Regions from separate parts of the Homo sapiens genome. Here all the other regions are linked to region 2. Evidence: promoter capture Hi-C in 16 types of primary human blood cells and fetal thymus (Javierre and others, 2016). All regions are on one chromosome and are shown on one strand. Each heading gives the region's core, a stretch centred on a gene start or on the middle of the fragment in contact. The rest is flanking DNA. Distances are from core to core; before and after follow the strand shown. Region 1 overlaps PKHD1 (PKHD1 ciliary IPT domain containing fibrocystin/polyductin). Region 2 holds the start of TFAP2B (transcription factor AP-2 beta). Region 3 overlaps PKHD1 (PKHD1 ciliary IPT domain containing fibrocystin/polyductin). Region 4 has its middle 550 kb from the start of TFAP2B. Region 5 has its middle 530 kb from the start of TFAP2B. Region 6 has its middle 560 kb from the start of PKHD1.

Region 1 (3,100 bases), core at 110-2,609, 910 kb before region 2:
GCATTTTCAAAGAATATTCCCCCATTTTCTAATTTCAGGAGATTGTAAAAAATGTGGTACATGGCCAAATAAATTTTGAAAACTCTGACTATTCCTATTTTGGAGACCACCATGTGTATTAAAATACTGAAGATTCTGATAAGTTCTGCAATTAAATTTTTAAAAACACTGTTTAATTTTGTGTTACCCGGTGTTTCCCAAGCTTTTTGACTAGAGAATACCTGTTCATACTACACATTAGGGTCCCTTGGAACTAGTGTACTTCAGAACACATTCTGGGAAATATTGCCTCATGTTAATCTATTAGTCTACAGGAATACATGCTACTTGGAAAGAAATGACAAGATTGTAGTGCCTTTGATTTGGATGGTCCCTTGAAGATCAATCAGCTTCACTTCACATGCATACGTGCCCTTTACCTTTCATTTTCCCAGGAAGTGGGAGTTCACACCCTTTTAAGGCTGCCTATATTATATTTTGAATAACTTGTTATTGTTAGGCTCTTCCTTCTATGACTTCTACCCAGTGACCTAGTTTGCCTTTTGGCATGACAGAGTATAAGTCTTTCCAGGTTTCATATAAGTCTTTCTGTATTACAGCATTTTACATATTCAAAGACAGTAAGACAATGATTTTATAATAAGCCAAATAAGACTTTTTCAAGCATAGGAATTCTAAATTCCTTCTATCAGCCAATATATGACATTTTTTTAGTTCTTCACTTTTTAGACTGGCTTATGTTTTTATTGTGGTAAAATACATATAATATAAAATTTACCATCTTAACCATTTTTTTTTTTTTTTGAGAGGGAGTCTCCCTCTGTCCTCAGGCTGGAGTGCAGTGGTGTGATCTCAGCTCACTGCAAGCTCCGCCTCCTGGGTTCACACCATTCTCCTGCCTCAGCCTCAGTAGCTGGGACTACAGGCTCCCACCACCACGCCCGGCTAATTTTTTGTATTTTTAGTAGAGACAGGGTTTCACTGTGTTAGCCAGGATGATCTAGGTCTCCTGACCTTGTGATCCGCCCATCTCGTTCTCCCAAAGTACTGGGATTACAGGTGTGAGTCACTGTGCCTGGCCCATCTTAACCATTTTTAAGTGTACAGTTCAGTGGTATTAAATACATTCATAGTATTGTGCAACCATCACTACCATACTTCTCCATAAGTCTTTTCAACTCTTAAAACTGAAACTCTAATGTCATTAAACAGTAACTTCCCATTCTTCCCTACCCCGTGTTCCTGAAAACCAACATTCCACTCTCTGGGTCTATGATTTTGACTACCCTTAAGTACCTCATATAAGTAGAATCATACAATACCTTTTGGTACTGGCTTATTTCTTTTAGCATAATGTTCTCAGGGTTCATCCATGTTGTAGCATATTATGGAATTTCATTCCATTGCATGAACTTACCACATTTTGCTTATCCATTCATCCACCCATGGACACCTGGAATGCTTCCATGTTTTAGCTATTGTAAATAATGCTACTATGAATATGGTATACAAATATCTCTTAGAGACTCTACTTTCAATTCTATTGGGTATAGATCCAGAAGTGAAATAGCAAGGTCATGTGATAGTTCTATTTTCAACCTTTTGTGGAACCATAATGTTGTTTCCCACAATAACTGTACCATTTTACATTCCCACCAACAGTACACAATGGTTTCTCCACATCCTTGTTGACACTTGAAATTTTCTACTTTGATAGTAACCATTTTAATGGGTGTGAGGTGATATGTCGTTGTAATTTTGATTTGCATTTCCCAAGTGATTAGTAGTGTTGAACATCTTTTCATGGAGTCATTGTTAATTTGAATATCTTTTTTGGAGAAATGTCTATTCAAGTCCCATATTAATTTTTGAATTGGGCTGTTTGGGTTTTTTTGTTATTGTTGAATCTTAGGAGTTGTGGTTTATGTTGTGGATATTAATCCTTTACTAGACATATGATTTGCAAATATTTCCCCCCATACTTCAGGTTTCCTTTTCACTCTGTTGATAGAGTTTTTTGATCCACAAATTTTTGATATTTTTATGAAGGACTGGCATATTTTTGATGATCTTCAGTTTTCAGTGATTTTTTTCTAAATCTAGGAATAAGAACTGAATATTAACCATCCAGAACAGTATTGTTCAAAAGAAATATAATGCACCAGTGTGACTTAGTATCTTAGCATCCAGGCTAAAAGCAGTAAAAAGAAACAGCTCAATATATTTAAAAATCATCATTTTAATATGTAATCAGTGTAGTTGAGATATTTTGCATTATGTTTCTTATACTATGTGTTTAAAATCTGTTGTGCTTTTTACTGTTATGCCATGTCAATTTATAAAGTGTTTTTATCAAAAGTATTTGATCTTTGCCTATATTTTATAAACTTTGCAACTGAAAAAGTAGAATCACATATAAACATTGTTTAAAATATACCTAAACATTTTCCAATAATTGTTATCAGTTTTACATTTTAAATTATAATTAATTAAAATTATACATAATTTGAAGCTTAGCTCCTTGGGTGCACTAGTCACATTTCAAAGACTAAATAGCTACATGTAGCTGCATTCATCATATGGATATTTTTCTTCCTTTGTTCTGAGGGATACACATTAAAGAGAATTGATTTTTTAAGCCATGTAGTAGACTCTATTTATCCCTGGTAAATTACCCTTTTATAAGTCAGTGGTCATCAGATGTAGCCTGGGTTCCTAGGATTAGAAATGAATCACAGAATTAGAAACCAATCTAGAGAGCACCTAATTGATCCTGGGCATATAATTCAGTCAATTAAAAAACAAAGCTTGTCTAGACTTGGATTACCTGCCATTTGCAGGAGGTATTATTTAAATACTCAAGCCTCCAACCAAAGCATCAAGATTTTCTGAGACTGAGAATTTTACTACTCAAGTTAACAATCCTTTATGAGAAATCTATTCACATTTCTCTGTTTTATTGTATGTTTGAAAAGCAGTAATATCAGTGTTCCACAAGAGGAGCTATTTTTGAATACCTATCTGTAAATGAAATTACTTGATTTTTTTGCCATAATAATAAACTGGCTCTGTATTTTCTATTTCTTTTTATTTTAGTTTA
Region 2 (2,897 bases), core at 197-2,696:
CCTGTGAGTCGCCCACTCTTAGGATCTTCGAGGCGGCTCTGCGCCGGGCTTTCAGGAGCTGTCCCGATCCGGAGGGGTCGCGTGTCTTTCTCGGCTCTTTGGGGAGCCTCTGCATCCCTCCACCTTTCGTCTGACCTAGCGGCCCGCGCCCGCCACCCGGGAGTCTGCTTCTCTTCCTTCCTTTTCTCTCCAACTTTTCCTCTTAGCAATCTCCATGGCCCGCTTCGCCCGCCTCGACTTCCCTCCTTTTCTAAATCCGCTTCGCCTTTCCGAAGTTTTTATTTCCAACCTCGACGTCTCAGCAGAACCTTCCCTTCCTCCCTTCCCCTGGCAACCACCTGGGGCTGTCCCAGACCATTCCGCTTAAAAGCGAGGCTCCGCGGGCTTCCCGGTCCCCAGCCTGGCCCGCCGCGCGCCCCGCGCCTCGCCCGCCTCGGCCGCCTCTCCCACCTCGCCCGCCTCTCCCACCTCGCCCGCCTCGGCCGCCTCGTCCGCCTAGTCCGCCTCGCCCGCGAGTAGCGGAGCCGTCTGGCCGCGTCAGCCCTCGCCCGAGCCGGAAAAGGGCTTTGGCGAGCGCGGTCCGGGCCCCGGAGGCGGCTGGCGTCCTCCTGGCTGGGCGCAACTTCTCCTGCCCCGAAGAGTTGAGCTAGCCTCAGTGCTAGAGACCCGTACGCATTGAACGTGGGCAGAAATTTCCGTGAAAGATGCCCACACAGGAGGCGGCTGCGATTTCTGTTCGGACGCAGTGACCCTCAAGGAAGCAAAACACAAGAAAACAGAAACTAATAAACTGCTACGACTTCTATTTTGCTCTATCCATCCATATCTCCAGCCATCTACTTCTTTCCCGCTAATTCTCTGTCCTCTACTTGGAACCATTTGTTATCAATTTCAGAAATTTTATTGAAAATAAAAATTAAAAGCCCGAGTCTGTTACAAATGAGGCTTGAAAACCCAATTCTCTTCCACACTTAAAACGAGAAAAGCCCCTGACTTTATCAGAATCTCGATTTTCTCTGAGAGCGTGCCCACATTCAGTAGCACCACATTCCCCATCAGAGCTTAAAAGGGTGGGGTGGGGTGGGGGGAGGCGAGGAAAAGGGAAAGAAAAATAAAATAAATAAAAACATTCCTAAATTAAAGTTGTCAGATTTCAGCCTTAAAGTCCCTTTTCAGAGCAGCGAAGTCTTCCCTAGCCAGCTTTTCTAAAAGTTAAAAAAAGCTGAGAAAACCGACCGGAAATCTACGAGTAAATAGCTTAAAAATATATATCATTTGGGGTATCAAGAAGCTCAAATTCTCTATCTGCAAAGCTCTAAGGTGCATCTGGGGGTGTCGACTCACCTCATAGATATCTTCGTACTTGACATTCTCCACAAGCTTCCAGAGCATGATGGCAGCCTGGTCTCTAGGAGGTGAGTGCATTCATGTGAGGAGCAGATGTCTGGCTTCTCAGGACTCCGCTGTCTGTAATGATCCATCTATAATTGGAAATGGGGGATACACACCAAATCCGACGCTCCTCTCCCATCGCAACTTATATCTGTTGTCTCAAACAATAGGCTGGACAAGTAAGCCTCAGCAAAGAGAAAAAACATTATTGCACACACAGGAGTTAGATGCAACCCACAGACATATATACTATAAAAATCATAAACCCGTATTTACACCCAGACACCCACATATAGTTATATAAGCACCTCTGGGTCACACAGTCTGCAGACTCCAAATGTGCATTTAACAAAGAGTTGTTCAGGGTGATTAATATAATATATACATTTTATAACTTCTATATCGAAAATGACACATCATTGTAGCCACTAACTGAAGTCTTTGCAATTCATAATGAGAAACCAGGGGCCATCAGTCCCCTATTTTCTATGTAGATTTTAAAGGGGGACACTTACCAAGATTTTTAAACACAAAAGCTCCCTCCTATTCATGTATGTTCCGGAAGAGAGTATTTTGAAAGGCTGGATATGGGGGATTTTAAGGACTATCTCTGTGTTGATGGCTACACAACTTTTTTTTTTTTAACTTTATCTCTGTCACCATAGAACAAAAAAGCTAGCCACCGTTGATGACCATTTCTAATATTTTCTGGTCATTTTACCTAAAACCTTTGGAAACTTAAATACACCTCAGTTTGTGCTGCTTGTTATTTTAGGTGTTGTTTGTATGCATTTTCAACGGATTCCATGCACCATTCCTCTTGGCTGGAGTCTCCATTTTATCAAGTTTTTTTCAGATGTTGGAAGCAACGTACGCACACGTTCAGACAAGGTTAATTTTGAGCCTTTTTTGCAGAGGCCAAGGACATTTTATATTTGCATCTGTTGTGTATGACTTGTAAGTGGTTTTAATCATGGAGAGTCAAGAAAGGGCCACCCGAATCTTTGAAAAGGTTTAAGCAGAATGTCTTCAAAGAGATAGTGAAAAATATTTTAGTGCATGTGGAGTTTCTTCTTTTTTTTGTATAATTTTTCTTAATAAGATGATTCATATAGTTTTTAAAAAGGAAAACATCATCAGCAACAAGAACAATATTAACCAGACTTAGAAAATGGGCACCATTTAAGGCGCAGGGATTCTGAATTTTATCATGAAATGAATACTCATCTGTTCCCCTGTTCCCCCTTTCCCATCCCCTCTGTTTTTCTACTCCCTTTCAGGGTGCGGAGAGCTTCTCATAGCCGGAACAGACGCCCAGAAGAGGATCTCTGCGCCTGGGACAGAAAAGAAATGCCAGGAGGGACCGAGGAGGGATGGGGCAATTTGGGGTGGAAGTTATTAAGCCTGGTGAGAGTGAATCTGCAAAGGGTGATTGTCTTTAAATCCAGGACTGCTGTGTGCAGCTCTGCGCGAACAGGGATGGACGCTGTTTGAGTACAGGGCTC
Region 3 (2,964 bases), core at 244-2,743, 940 kb before region 2:
CTTTTATCAACATTTCTTCAACCTTTGCTTCCCCCCACCACCAGCCAAACCAGCAGCCTCTGGTAACCTGCATTCTACTCTCTAGTCCAGTGAATTCCACTCTTTTTGATTCTGCATGCAAGTGAGATCATGTGGTATTTGTCTTCTTGGGCCTGGATCATTTCACTTAACGTAGTGTCTTCCAGGTTCATCTATGTTGATGCTAATGACCAGATTTTCTTCTTTTTAAAGGCTGAATAGTATTCCAGAGTGTATGTGTATACTGCATTTTCTTTATCCATTCATTTGTCGATGGGCACCTAGATTGACTCTATATTTTGGCTCTTGCGAATAATGTTGCTGTGAACATGGGAGTGCAAATATCTCAGACATACTGATTTCATATCCTTGGAATATATATCTAGAAGATGGATTGCTGGATCATATTCTATTTTTAATTATTGAGGACCCTCCAAACTCTTTTCTATAACGGTTGTACTAATTTACATTTCTACTAACAGTATGCAAGGGTTCTCTTCTCTTTCCATCCTCACTAACCTTTGTTATCTTTCACTGTTTTGGTAATTTTGACAGGTATGAGGTGTCTGAAGTGATTTATTAACATACTCTGTTATTTACAAGGAAGAAACTGTGAACTGAATAAGAAATCAAGTCATTTGTTACCTCATCCTTTTCTCCAGGCCCTAAACCTTTAAATTGAATGTCATAATTGATTATATCTATTCCTTTATCTCCTATGTTAAATTAATGATGTGTTCTTTGTATATATTTTGTTTGGAATGTTTCTTTTTTCTTTCCTATCTGCTACATTCTCATTGCAGCACTTCACCCATGGCTCTCTACAACAACTTTTGTACTGGCTCCTTAAGTACCTAATAAATGAAATAAGAGTATCAGATGCAGTATTCTTGCATCTCCTCCTTGACTGTATAACTTCCTATTTATCCTTAAAGATTCCATTACATCAGACACAGGACTTTAGGTATCTCCGACTCTACAAATTTTCCCATCATCTGAACGTAAGATGTGATTTTATGATTTGTAATTTTAAGAAAAGCATAACACTAAGATGTTTAACATTTGTGTGTCCTGTTCCTCCAAGTGGCTTCTATAGGGGAGAGATATATTTTTGTTATTGTTGATTTGGTATATTAGTGTCTAGTGCACAGCAGAACATAAAGAAGGGCTCCAATAAATGCATGCTACATTGACTTGATGTGTATTTTCTAGAAATCAGAACTTATTGAGCTTCTTGGTTCAATGGCATATTATCTAACAAATGAGAGAATCTTGAATTTAATTTCAAATACTACTATAATTTATTTTGCTCATTCCTCAAACTTTATTATTATAACAACTTAGTTTAAGTATTAGAATATAGAGTTGGTGGCCTTATGCACTCATTGGCAAGAGTTCAGGATCACATATGTAACCTCTAAAAGATGATGATTTTTTTTCATATGTTAGAGGTCCAATAAACTATTGGGTTCTATTGCCAAATTCACTACTATTATGATGCTGGTGAAAGGCATATGTTTGGAAGGTAGGTTGGAAATATATTCTGCAATGAAAAGGAGTTTGAACTTTGAGGGCAGGCAGACTAATTCTAGTTAGGTGGTTAGCTAAAGGTGTAACTCTGAGTAAATTACTCTCTCTGAGCCTCAGTTTTATTTTCTTTAATTATGTGAGTAACAATACATTGCTAATAGAATAGTTATAAGGATTGAGGGAGTTAATGCACATGAGGTGTTAAGCCCAGTTTCTGGCACAGTGTAAGCCTTAAGACAGGGCAGCTATTGTGGCAATCGGGGCTCTTTAAGTCGAAAGTACAAGTAAAAGTAACCCTTCTTAAGCCATTTTGAAGACTGTATCAAGCCCTTCCTCTCCTCCTCTACTTTTTTACTTCTTTATTTCAACCTCTTTTTTTTCTACTGGAGAATAGTTTTCTTCATTCTGTATGGTGCAAGTGAACTCAGATCTGTTTGGCTTTTCCTAGCTATACCACCAGTGAGGAGGTTACTACTAATTCCCCTCAGTTTCATTCAAAATTCCAGGGGAAAGATTTTGGTGAATGAATGCAGGTTGGATCCTATGCCCAGCCTTTGGTGAAGGGTTTGTGGGACTTTAACCTGCAGCTCTCACAGATTTCAGTATAGTGGATGGGAGCAGTTCTCAGATGAGGTGTGAGGGATTTCCTGGAATGAAGCAGAGAGGAAGTCAGGTAGACAAATAATTGGTATTGACTATAGCTATAATTGTTGTCACTCACCATCTTTACCAGCATCATTATAGAATTCAATTTCTTCTCTATCAAGTGTAGAATAATACAGTCTGAGAATCCTCATTACATTTTAATGGCACTGATAGAAAAATTTTAAACTGAAGTTACAAAATGAAAAAGACTAAATATTAGTAGAGTTCAGAAATCTGTGGCCATCCCTATTCCTGGAGGTGCAGGTGAGACAGGGCATGTTTTGTGATATGTACACTCTGAGCCTGTGGTCAAATGCAGTTATTATCATTAAGATCTTACAAGTATTAAGTTAACAAATTCATTTAAGTTGTAGGTGTTTACACGTGAATGTCTTACACATTTTTGTAAAAACTTTTAAATCAAATTTTGAAGCATTTTTAAATTCTCTGTAAATAATAAGTATTATATTTTTGTCTAGTAAATATTATTTTTCTCTGAACTAGGTCAAAAGTTATGCCAAAATAAAGAAACTGTACTGATATTTTGTTTATATTTTCTTAGAGTTATCTTTAAAAAGACTTCCACAGTGATTATTCATAATTTCCTCTCTCTTCTCATATGGTTTCCATTTAGGTACAATTATGTTGAAAAAAAGTCTTTTAATTTTTTGTTTATTTATTATTTGAGGTATGTTTTGCTCATAACAACAAGCAAGTCTCCCCTCTTCCCTGAAGATCTAGGAGTCATACTAATCAGAGGAATAAAATACA
Region 4 (2,795 bases), core at 153-2,652, 550 kb before region 2:
ACAAGAGGAGTGAAGCTATAAACATTTTGATTTTGTGATGCATGAAAACTTCTGTAATGTGCAAAACTTGACTAACATATTCCACACTAAAGGATGCAACATGACCATCTGGGGACATTTTAGAATGATTTCTGTTGCCTTGTGAGGCTTCAGAGCTAATAAAGCAGATTTGTTAATGCTTCATAGATTTCCAAGAGAACTCATTATATAGGTATTATTATAATTCCCATATCCTTGAAATGAGAATATTATTGAGTCCACAATCCTGGATAGATTAAGTGAATTGCCAAATAAATAAACACTAAATAGCAGAACCTAAATCTTATGTTAAAGGCCAGCTGCAATACACCATCCAACTTCTTACCATAGTATCCCCAATATTGAATAGTGATAGCAGAGCATAGTGTTACCTTTAATATCCTAAAGCAGTGGTTGAATTTCCACAGTGTAATAAATTGACAAATATGCTTTAGCAGAGTATGCATTAACTTTCTAGTCCAGAGATGGATTTAGAAACAGATTATCTTTCCTCTGAATAACTAAGACTGTACACAGTTAGGCAAGGTAAGTATAGGATACACACAAGTTTTAATGTCACCTTCTAACCCCCAAGATCCAGTAGGGGAGAATGGGAAAATATCAGTACCATGAAGAGGAATTATGAATTACCAACACTTGCCTTTCTGAACAGGAAATTGTACCTGTGGATAGCAGAGAAGGATGCCAAGTTTCTTTTGGGCATCTTTTATGTCCCAAAGAATTAGACGTTTTCTATTCTAATTGATGAGGGAGAATAATGCTGCATCAGCAGGTATCTGCCATGCAATATTAGCACATGGACCAGGTAAGGGTCCTGTTGACTTTAAATGCTGTTTATGTATTGGGCCAACTGGCTGGAGTACTCATATCTATCAAGCAGCCAGACACTCAACAGTGGGGCTGCCCAGACATGAATAATTCATCCATCCTTTAAGTATGTGTAGATAACTCTGTATCACAATTGTAAAGAAGGTGTCATAATCAAGTTGTGTCAGTTCATGAATATTTAAATCCAATAAACTTAACCAGTTAAATAAACACTCTTATTACTCAGGTCACAGTGCTATTTAATTGAGAGTCCCAGCTCCTAATTATGCAATACAATACAAGTATACATAAATACACACTTAGCCTTACATTCTACACTACAGGAGTATCTCAGCCTTTGCCTAGTTTCTACATTTCTGTAATGCCTACTTTCCTTACTCCATCTGTCCTATCATTCTTTACATCCTTGCTTTCTTGTTTGAATACTTCATCTCTAAAAGTGTATTATTATTTTCACAACCCCATACATTAAATTTATACTAGATTATATATTTTAAGTAAATTCTTTTTTAAAGTTCATGTTCATGTTTTTATTTGTCTTAACTTTTTAAAAGAAAAATTCCTTGCATCGATTATATTTTGCATGAGTCTCTCATTTCTGAGGGAACTACTCTAAAATGCTCATCATACACCGGTACCATATCCCTGAGAGTCGACAGCTTGAAAATAAGATGAGCTGGGTTAAATCATTGCCATTATAATTACATATAAGAGAACTGCTGATTCCACATTTGATAATACATTGACTCTGGAGTAAATAACAGATTATAGGAGTGAAACGGAAATGGTTATTCATATTTTGTTGGTGAGGCAGTTTTGCTACTGACTTTACAAAAGAGCTTAGAAGCTACAGAAAAAAAGTGTTCCATAGATTGTTCCAATTATTTCCTATGGAGACCCACTGTAGGAAATTAAGTGAAAAAAGTTAACTTTCTTAGATGGTTCGTTTAAAAAACCTCAAAAGCAAATAACTTATAAGTGCTTTAGATTTTAAAGTTACTTATAAAAATGTTCGTTGTCTAGTTTATTTTCATATATTATCTTTTCCTATATTTCTGTTGCTTAAACTCTTATAAAATGTTTTTCTGTCTTTTTCCTATCAAACGATAATAATGATTTTTAAAATAAGGAGAAAGAGGAAACTAAGTGCATATGTTTGTTTGTGTTCATACGTACACATATATGCAGTCAACACAGCAAATTTTGTACAAATAGAATATGTGTATAGTGATCAACTAGTCTTACAAAAATCTTAAGAGAATTTGAAGGAAAATTTTGAAATCATACTTACTCTTACACCCATATAACGCTTTATACTTTTCAAAGTCACTTCACATTTTTTTGCCTTTCAATACTGAGATAGGGCAGATGTTAATCATAATTTTAAAAGGTGCAAGCTGAGGGAGTGATCAAATGGAAAGTCCCAAAGTTAGAGAGAAATAGTATTTGAGTTCATATCTCTTAACGCTCAACCTCCTTTTACTAAAAAACATTAAATAAAGAAACACACTTGTAGTCATAAATTACCAAAGAGGCCATACTGCCCTTACAGACAGGACTGAACAAAAGTAAAACTGGGAAATAGAAAAAGAGGTTCAGTAGTTCTTTGGGAAGCTCCTTTTTGCCTGGTCTCATCCCTGACTCTTTTATTAATTCATCCTCTTTCTATTTTCTAAACATACAATGGCAAACCCTGACTCCCCATTCCTTGTCTACAAGAATAGACAAGGAATACTCTCCTTTTTCCTTCATATGAAGGCTTGCACAATTCCAGGCTTAGCTCCCTCAGTAGTCTCTGTGTGCCTCCTTCAAGAGAGCCTCCAACCCTCAGACAAGGATTCTACCCAACTCCCAAGCTCCCACGCATGAGACACCATGGATCATCCTGAAAATCAGCTCACGTTTATATACAAACAATGGATTCATCT
Region 5 (2,768 bases), core at 203-2,702, 530 kb before region 2:
AAACATCCAACCTCAATTTTGTCATTTGTAAAACAAGGCACATGACATATACCAAAAAAGTTACTGTGAGGCTAAAGTAACATGTATAAGCTCCTTCTACAATCAATAATTCTTAGTTTAATTTATTCCTATATCACAATTTTATTTTCATTATAGATATTTGGGTATATATCTTATCTGTAACAAATTAAGCTCCCAGAGAGTATAGATCATCTTATTCACCTTTGTAAATGGCTTAGCGTAGTTCTTTATATACAGCTTCATTAAAGTATGTATATTGAGTGAATAATGTACCTCTGCCTCAGTTTTTCATCTGTAAAATGGGAATAAAAATAGCTTAGTTATTTTATAGCATTATGAAAAGGGTAAATTAAAATTCTACATGTATAATCATTTTGAAAAATAAAAAGACAAAATGCTAGCCAAGTATAAGATGTTGTTCAGTATATTATTAATATGTTTGGACAACTAGTGACAATATTACCCAGCTTATCCAGTAGAGGGCAACGACACACACAAGGATATTCATATTCTTTTTAAGACTTTGAAAACCACAAATTTAAAAGTGAGAAAAGCTTTTGGTATTATGCTAACAAAATAAAACAATCTCTCTGGATTCAGCTGATTTCTTTTCTTTTACTCTTTTATGTATACAATGTATATGTATATAAAGAACCTTAGACTCCATTGAGGGTTTCCAGTGTGTAGACCTGTGTTCTAAATTCCCTACTAGAATTTCCACTTGCCCATTTGCTAAGGGTGAGGAATTATTCCAGCTTAGCCAATGGGAAAAGAACACTGTTTTTACTGGTTTCATTACCTTGGTGCTGCGCAGAAGGATTTCCATAGCACTGGTGAGGGTGTGGCCCTGATTGGAGAGAGGCCTGGAAGGTTTCCATGCCAGCGGAGGGATTGGAGAAAGACTTGGAAAAACAATGCCGACCATTGTTTCCTTAGCCTGCTTTGGCTCCCCTCAGTCTGCTCTGTGAAGACACTGAATCCATTGACTAAGTCACTGACATTTTCCTAGCAGAGGGTAAGTCTCCAAGGGATAAGGGAAAGAGAGGGTGGTGGTGAATGAGCACCCGCAGCAGAGTATATCTACTGTGCAGGTGTTTGCTTTCCAGTTAATTCTGAACTTACTAAGTTTTAGGCAGAAAAACAGCCTGAAGATATGAGTAAGTGCATGGCATTTGCCCCTGAGAAACCCAAACTATAATATAAGACAGTTAGATTCCCAGGCAAGATGGCCGAATAGGAACAGCTCCAGTCTGCAGCTCCCAGCAAGACCAATGCAGAAGGCAGGTGGTTTCTGCATTTCCAACTGAGTACCCGGTTCATCTCTTTGGGACTGGTTAGGCAGTGGGTGCAGCCCACAGAGAGCGAGCAGAAACAGGGTGAGGTGTTGCCTCACCTGGGAAGCACAAGGAGCCAGGGAACTCCCTCCTCTAGCCAAGGGAAGCCATGAGGGACTATGCCATGATGTATGGTGCACTCTGGCCCATATACTACACTTTTCCCACAGTCTTCACAATCCATAGACCAGGAGATTCCCTTGGGTGCCTACACCACCAGGGCCCTGGGTTTCAAGCACAAAACTGGGCAGCCATTTGGGCAGACACTGAGCTAGCTGCAGGAGTTTTTTTTTCATACCCCAGTGGCGCCTGGAATGCCAGCAAGACAAAACCATTCACTCCCCCAGAAAGGGAGCTGAAGCCAGGAAGCCAAGCGGTCTTGCTCAGCAGATCACAACGCCATGAAGCCCAGCAAGCTAAGATCCACTGGCTTGAAGTACTCACTGCCAGCACAGCAGTCTGAAGTTGACCTGGATGCTCCAGCTTGGTGGGAGGAGGGGTGTCTGCCATTACTGAGGTTTAGGTAGGCAGTTTTCCCTTCACAGTGTAAACAAAGCTGCCAGGAAGTTTGGACTAGGTAGAGTCCACCACAGCACAGCAAAGCCACTGTAGCCAGATTGCCTCTCTAGATTCCCTCTCTCAGGGCAGGCCATCTCTCAAAGAAGGGCAGCAGCCTCAGTCAGTGGCTTATAGATAAAACTCCCATCTCCCTGGGACAGAGCACCTGGGGAAAGGGGCAGCAATAGGTGCAGCTTCAGCAGACATAAGTGTTCCTGCCTGACAGCTCTGAAGAGAGCAGTGGACCTCCCAGCACAGCACTCAAGCTCTGCTAAGAGACAGACTGCCTCCTCAAGTGGGTCCCTGACCCCCGTGCCTCCTGACTGGGAGACACTTCCCAGCAGGGGTCGACAGACACCTCATACAGGAGAGCTCCAACTGGTATCTGGTGGGTGCCCCTCTGGGACAAAGCTTCGAGAGGAAGGAGGGGGCAGCAATTTTTGCTGTTCTGCAGCCTCAGCTGGTGATACCCAGGCAAACAAGTTCTGGAGTGGACCTCCAGCAAACTCCAGCAGACCTGCAGAAGAGGGGTCTCACTGTTAAAAGCAAAATGAACAAACAGAAAGCAAAAGCATCAACATAAACAAAAAGGACAACCACATAAAAACTCCATCCAAAGGTCACCAAAAGCAAAGACCAAAGGTAGATAAATCCACAAAGATGAGGAAGAACCAATGCAAAAAGGCTGAAAATTCCAAAAACCAGAATGCCTCTTATCCTCCAAAGGATCAGAATTCCTCGCCAGCAAGGGAACAAAACTGGATGGAGAATGAGTTTGATGAATTGACAGGAGTAGGCTTCAGAAGGTGGATAATAACAAATTCCTCCAAGCTAAAGGAGCATGTTTTAACCCAA
Region 6 (2,876 bases), core at 159-2,658, 710 kb before region 2:
TAATTATTTATCTATTACCCCATTGGACTGGGAGGTTCTGAACACGAAGAGTGCTTTTTGTCTTCACATTTCCACTGTACAGTTAGCCACAAAGTTGCTAGATAAGTGTTTATTGAACTGGATTGCTTGCTTTTGTACTGAGCTGAATTTGTCCTCCCCTGACTCCACAGGTGGCTCCTGAGTACTTTCTCTGGGTTCACACTATTCACATGTCCTTAAGAGGTCTAGTTGCATCTTCTAAGGGCCTCAGACCCAGGGTTACCCAGAAAGAAGAGGGGGTTAGGTATTGGTAGGGGTTCAAACATTAGATGTTTTCTTTTCTATGCAAAACAGTTGTTTTAGTTTAGTTCAATTTTGCTTATTTCTGAGTGATACAGGCTGAATCTTCCACCCAAAGCGATATATCATCAGAGCAGCCAGGGAGGCTGTGGCCAATTAGAAATCTGGAACTTGTTTATCAGTCAGTCAACAAGTTAGCAGAACCCACTGGGTTTCAGGGTGCTGTGCGCGGCATGCAACAGCACTTATATTGGAGTTAGGCTGAATTAGTTTCATTTTCACAAACATATAAAGTCCCTAAGAATCCTCACAAACTGTTAATTCTATTCTTGTTTTATGAGTGGACTCATGGGGCAAACAGATGTAAACTACACTGGACTCTAAAGAAAAAAAAAGCAATTGTGAATTTAGCACAAATACTTCTGTAGAGTGTGCCTGGGGTGCTCTTGGAAACTCACTCTCAGAAGGCAGCATCCAAACACTGTCACCTGCCAAGTATTAACCAGGCTAGTTTAAAAACAGAGATCTCAGTTAGAATTTTAACTCATGTAATATTGGGGATTCCCACTTTCCTAGGGCTCTGAAAAGAATCTGGTATCTCAGGGAAACAATAGCAAACATTAGAATAAAATGGCACCTTCCATAGTTGTCCCAGGCATAACTTGTGGGGCTATTCGTGGCCACCTTGTATAATCTGTAGGCAATTGCAGCTGACCTGCACCAGTGAGTCAAGCCCTACGTTCAGATGTCAGAACTTGTAGTTTTCTGTTATAACCAATTATTGTTTACAAAAAAGGAAGAGTTGCAATGTTATCCTATGGAAGGTGTTTTGTCCAGGAGTCTAATAAGTCTTTCCCCAGAGTTACTGACTGTTGGTTTCTCTATTAGACAGTCTTTTCTCTTAGAGCTTTGACAAAACCATTATGTGTAATATATCGTGTCCCCTCTCCACTTTTGTCTTCACCTGACTTGGCTGGCCTTGGGATGAAGAATTTTGGGAATATGGACTCTGCATACACATGCAGCTCCCCTTCTCTTTCTCATTCTGAATTGCATTAGCTCCTCATGGTGCCATGAGTGAAATGTTCCCAGAGCATACTCTGAGTTCCAAATGCTATCCTTACTAGAGTGGGTCTTTGGAAAGTCAACTACCAAATGATGAAAAGGAGATCCTACTCATGACTAGGAAAATCAACAAGAGGAATATTATTGTTAAGTAGAGGTGTACAGTGTTGACTACTGACAAGCAATGCAGGCTTCAGAGAAAGTGTCTTGGGAAACATTCTTGTACTTAATTTCTGCTCAACATTAATTGGGCACATATTGTGATCAGGTGCTGGGTCATGGGCAGACAAAGACAGAGAAGACATGGGCCCTGTCTTTGAGGAGTTAATGTCTACCATTATAGAGACAAACACCACATGCCTAGTCACTGTTGATTTTCAGGGTTCTGAAATCTGCTTTGATATTTGTGTTCAACATGACACTTAGGGTCCCCCAAAACACGTGTAATTGTTTGTCAAAGACAAACTAAAGAAGTTCAGGGTACAATCTTGGGCACAGCTGGATACTTTTCTTAGGAGTCTCTCAGCCCCTGGACACGGTGGCTTCAGGAATTGAGGGCTAGACTCACTGCCCTATTGCTGGGTTGAGTTGCGAGTTGTTCTCGAGGCTCCACCTGAGAGTCTCAGAAAGCAGCCTGGCTATGAGGGAGTGCACAGGGAGTTGAGGGGAGGCAACTTGATGAGGCTTCAGGGAGGGTGGATCCCTTGGAATCAATGGAGACTGAAAGTTCTTAAAGAGGGCTTCTGATAATAAGGGTAAGATATCTCAATGCACCTTCCAGAAACAGTGGAGCTGTTTTTCCCTTGTATCAAATGCATATGATAACCAAAGAGATAAAATTACTATGGCTTCATTTTTGTCCCTGGCTGGAATGTTCTAGAGAGTATGTGCTGTGTTTGATAATGTTCTGTGGATAAACCCCCAAGTCTTCCTAAGTCTAAACATCCAATTGTTTTCCTAAACTTAATCACAATTTTCTCATCTCATCGCTTTCCATTCCTCTCTAATATGATTATCTATCTTTCAGGCAATCCCCAACACCTATCCTTTGAATTTGGACTGGGAAGATAATTCAGATACAATGCTCCATTCTAATACATGCATTCTGTACTTTCCTATAGGTTATCTCTAACAATCACAGGTTTTGTGGATTAGGGTTCGAAGTCATTACTTCCTCATTGGCTCTTCCCAACAATTATTCTTATCTATCCTCTGATATACTGTAATGAAGAGGAGACTAGGTTAGTGAAAGGAAAATGGGCTTTTGGAGCCAGCCTGCTCACCTCCCTAGCTGTGTGAACGTGGAACTGCCATCTTAATTTCTTGAGCTTTCGTTTTATTTGTACATAATACATGAAAATGGAAAAATAATATGAATTTCAAAAGATTGAAGTGAGGATCGGGTGTATATAAAGGACCTACCATCATGGCTAACTCATGGTAGTTTTTTGATAACTGTAAGTACCCTTCCCTCCCTTTAAAAATAAGATATACACTGGATATCTAATAACTTCTGCAAAAGAAGAAATTAT

The links. Contacts are between HindIII fragments. The CHiCAGO score rates a contact against its expected background, and 5 or more counts as called.
Region 1: a contact is called between a fragment that was not itself captured here and the fragment with the promoter of TFAP2B in region 2, in 1 of 17 cell types (monocytes). The highest score is 6.7, in monocytes.
Region 3: a fragment that was not itself captured here is called in contact with the fragment with the promoter of TFAP2B in region 2 in 4 of 17 cell types (M2 macrophages, monocytes, M0 macrophages and 1 more); the score reaches 14.9 in M2 macrophages.
Region 4: a contact is called between a fragment that was not itself captured here and the fragment with the promoter of TFAP2B in region 2, in 2 of 17 cell types (erythroblasts and M0 macrophages). The highest score is 5.9, in erythroblasts.
Region 5: a fragment that was not itself captured here is called in contact with the fragment with the promoter of TFAP2B in region 2 in 8 of 17 cell types (megakaryocytes, M0 macrophages, erythroblasts and 5 more); the score reaches 17.1 in megakaryocytes.
Region 6: a fragment that was not itself captured here is called in contact with the fragment with the promoter of TFAP2B in region 2 in 3 of 17 cell types (M1 macrophages, monocytes and M0 macrophages); the score reaches 6.3 in M1 macrophages.

The regions. Positions count from the first base shown.
Region 1 is chr6:51,731,240-51,734,339 of GRCh38, reverse strand. All of the region lies in intron 60 of PKHD1 (PKHD1 ciliary IPT domain containing fibrocystin/polyductin), which reads left to right. Among named protein-coding and RNA genes, the nearest start is that of PKHD1, 350 kb to the left of the region's middle. The HindIII fragment of the contact is 2,310 bases long and covers 205-2,514 here.
Region 2 is chr6:50,817,420-50,820,316 of GRCh38, reverse strand. It overlaps TFAP2B (transcription factor AP-2 beta), which reads right to left and starts at 1,446. Exons shown (of 7, transcript NM_003221.4): 1 at 1,345-1,446. The coding sequence starts at 1,425. LOC124901490 (a long non-coding RNA gene) reads left to right here and starts at 1,291. Exons shown (of 2, transcript XR_007059923.1): 1 at 1,291-1,415; 2 at 2,673-2,897. The HindIII fragment of the contact is 1,562 bases long and covers 1,383-2,897 here.
Region 3 is chr6:51,758,511-51,761,474 of GRCh38, reverse strand. The region is part of intron 55 of PKHD1 (PKHD1 ciliary IPT domain containing fibrocystin/polyductin); the gene reads left to right. Among named protein-coding and RNA genes, the nearest start is that of PKHD1, 330 kb to the left of the region's middle. The HindIII fragment of the contact is 5,157 bases long and covers 1-2,964 here.
Region 4 is chr6:51,367,693-51,370,487 of GRCh38, reverse strand. No RefSeq gene overlaps it. Among named protein-coding and RNA genes, the nearest start is that of TFAP2B, 550 kb to the right of the region's middle. The HindIII fragment of the contact is 5,423 bases long and covers 1-2,795 here.
Region 5 is chr6:51,348,236-51,351,003 of GRCh38, reverse strand. No RefSeq gene overlaps it. Among named protein-coding and RNA genes, the nearest start is that of TFAP2B, 530 kb to the right of the region's middle. The HindIII fragment of the contact is 1,749 bases long and covers 578-2,326 here.
Region 6 is chr6:51,523,894-51,526,769 of GRCh38, reverse strand. No RefSeq gene overlaps it. Among named protein-coding and RNA genes, the nearest start is that of PKHD1, 560 kb to the left of the region's middle. The HindIII fragment of the contact is 3,898 bases long and covers 1-2,876 here.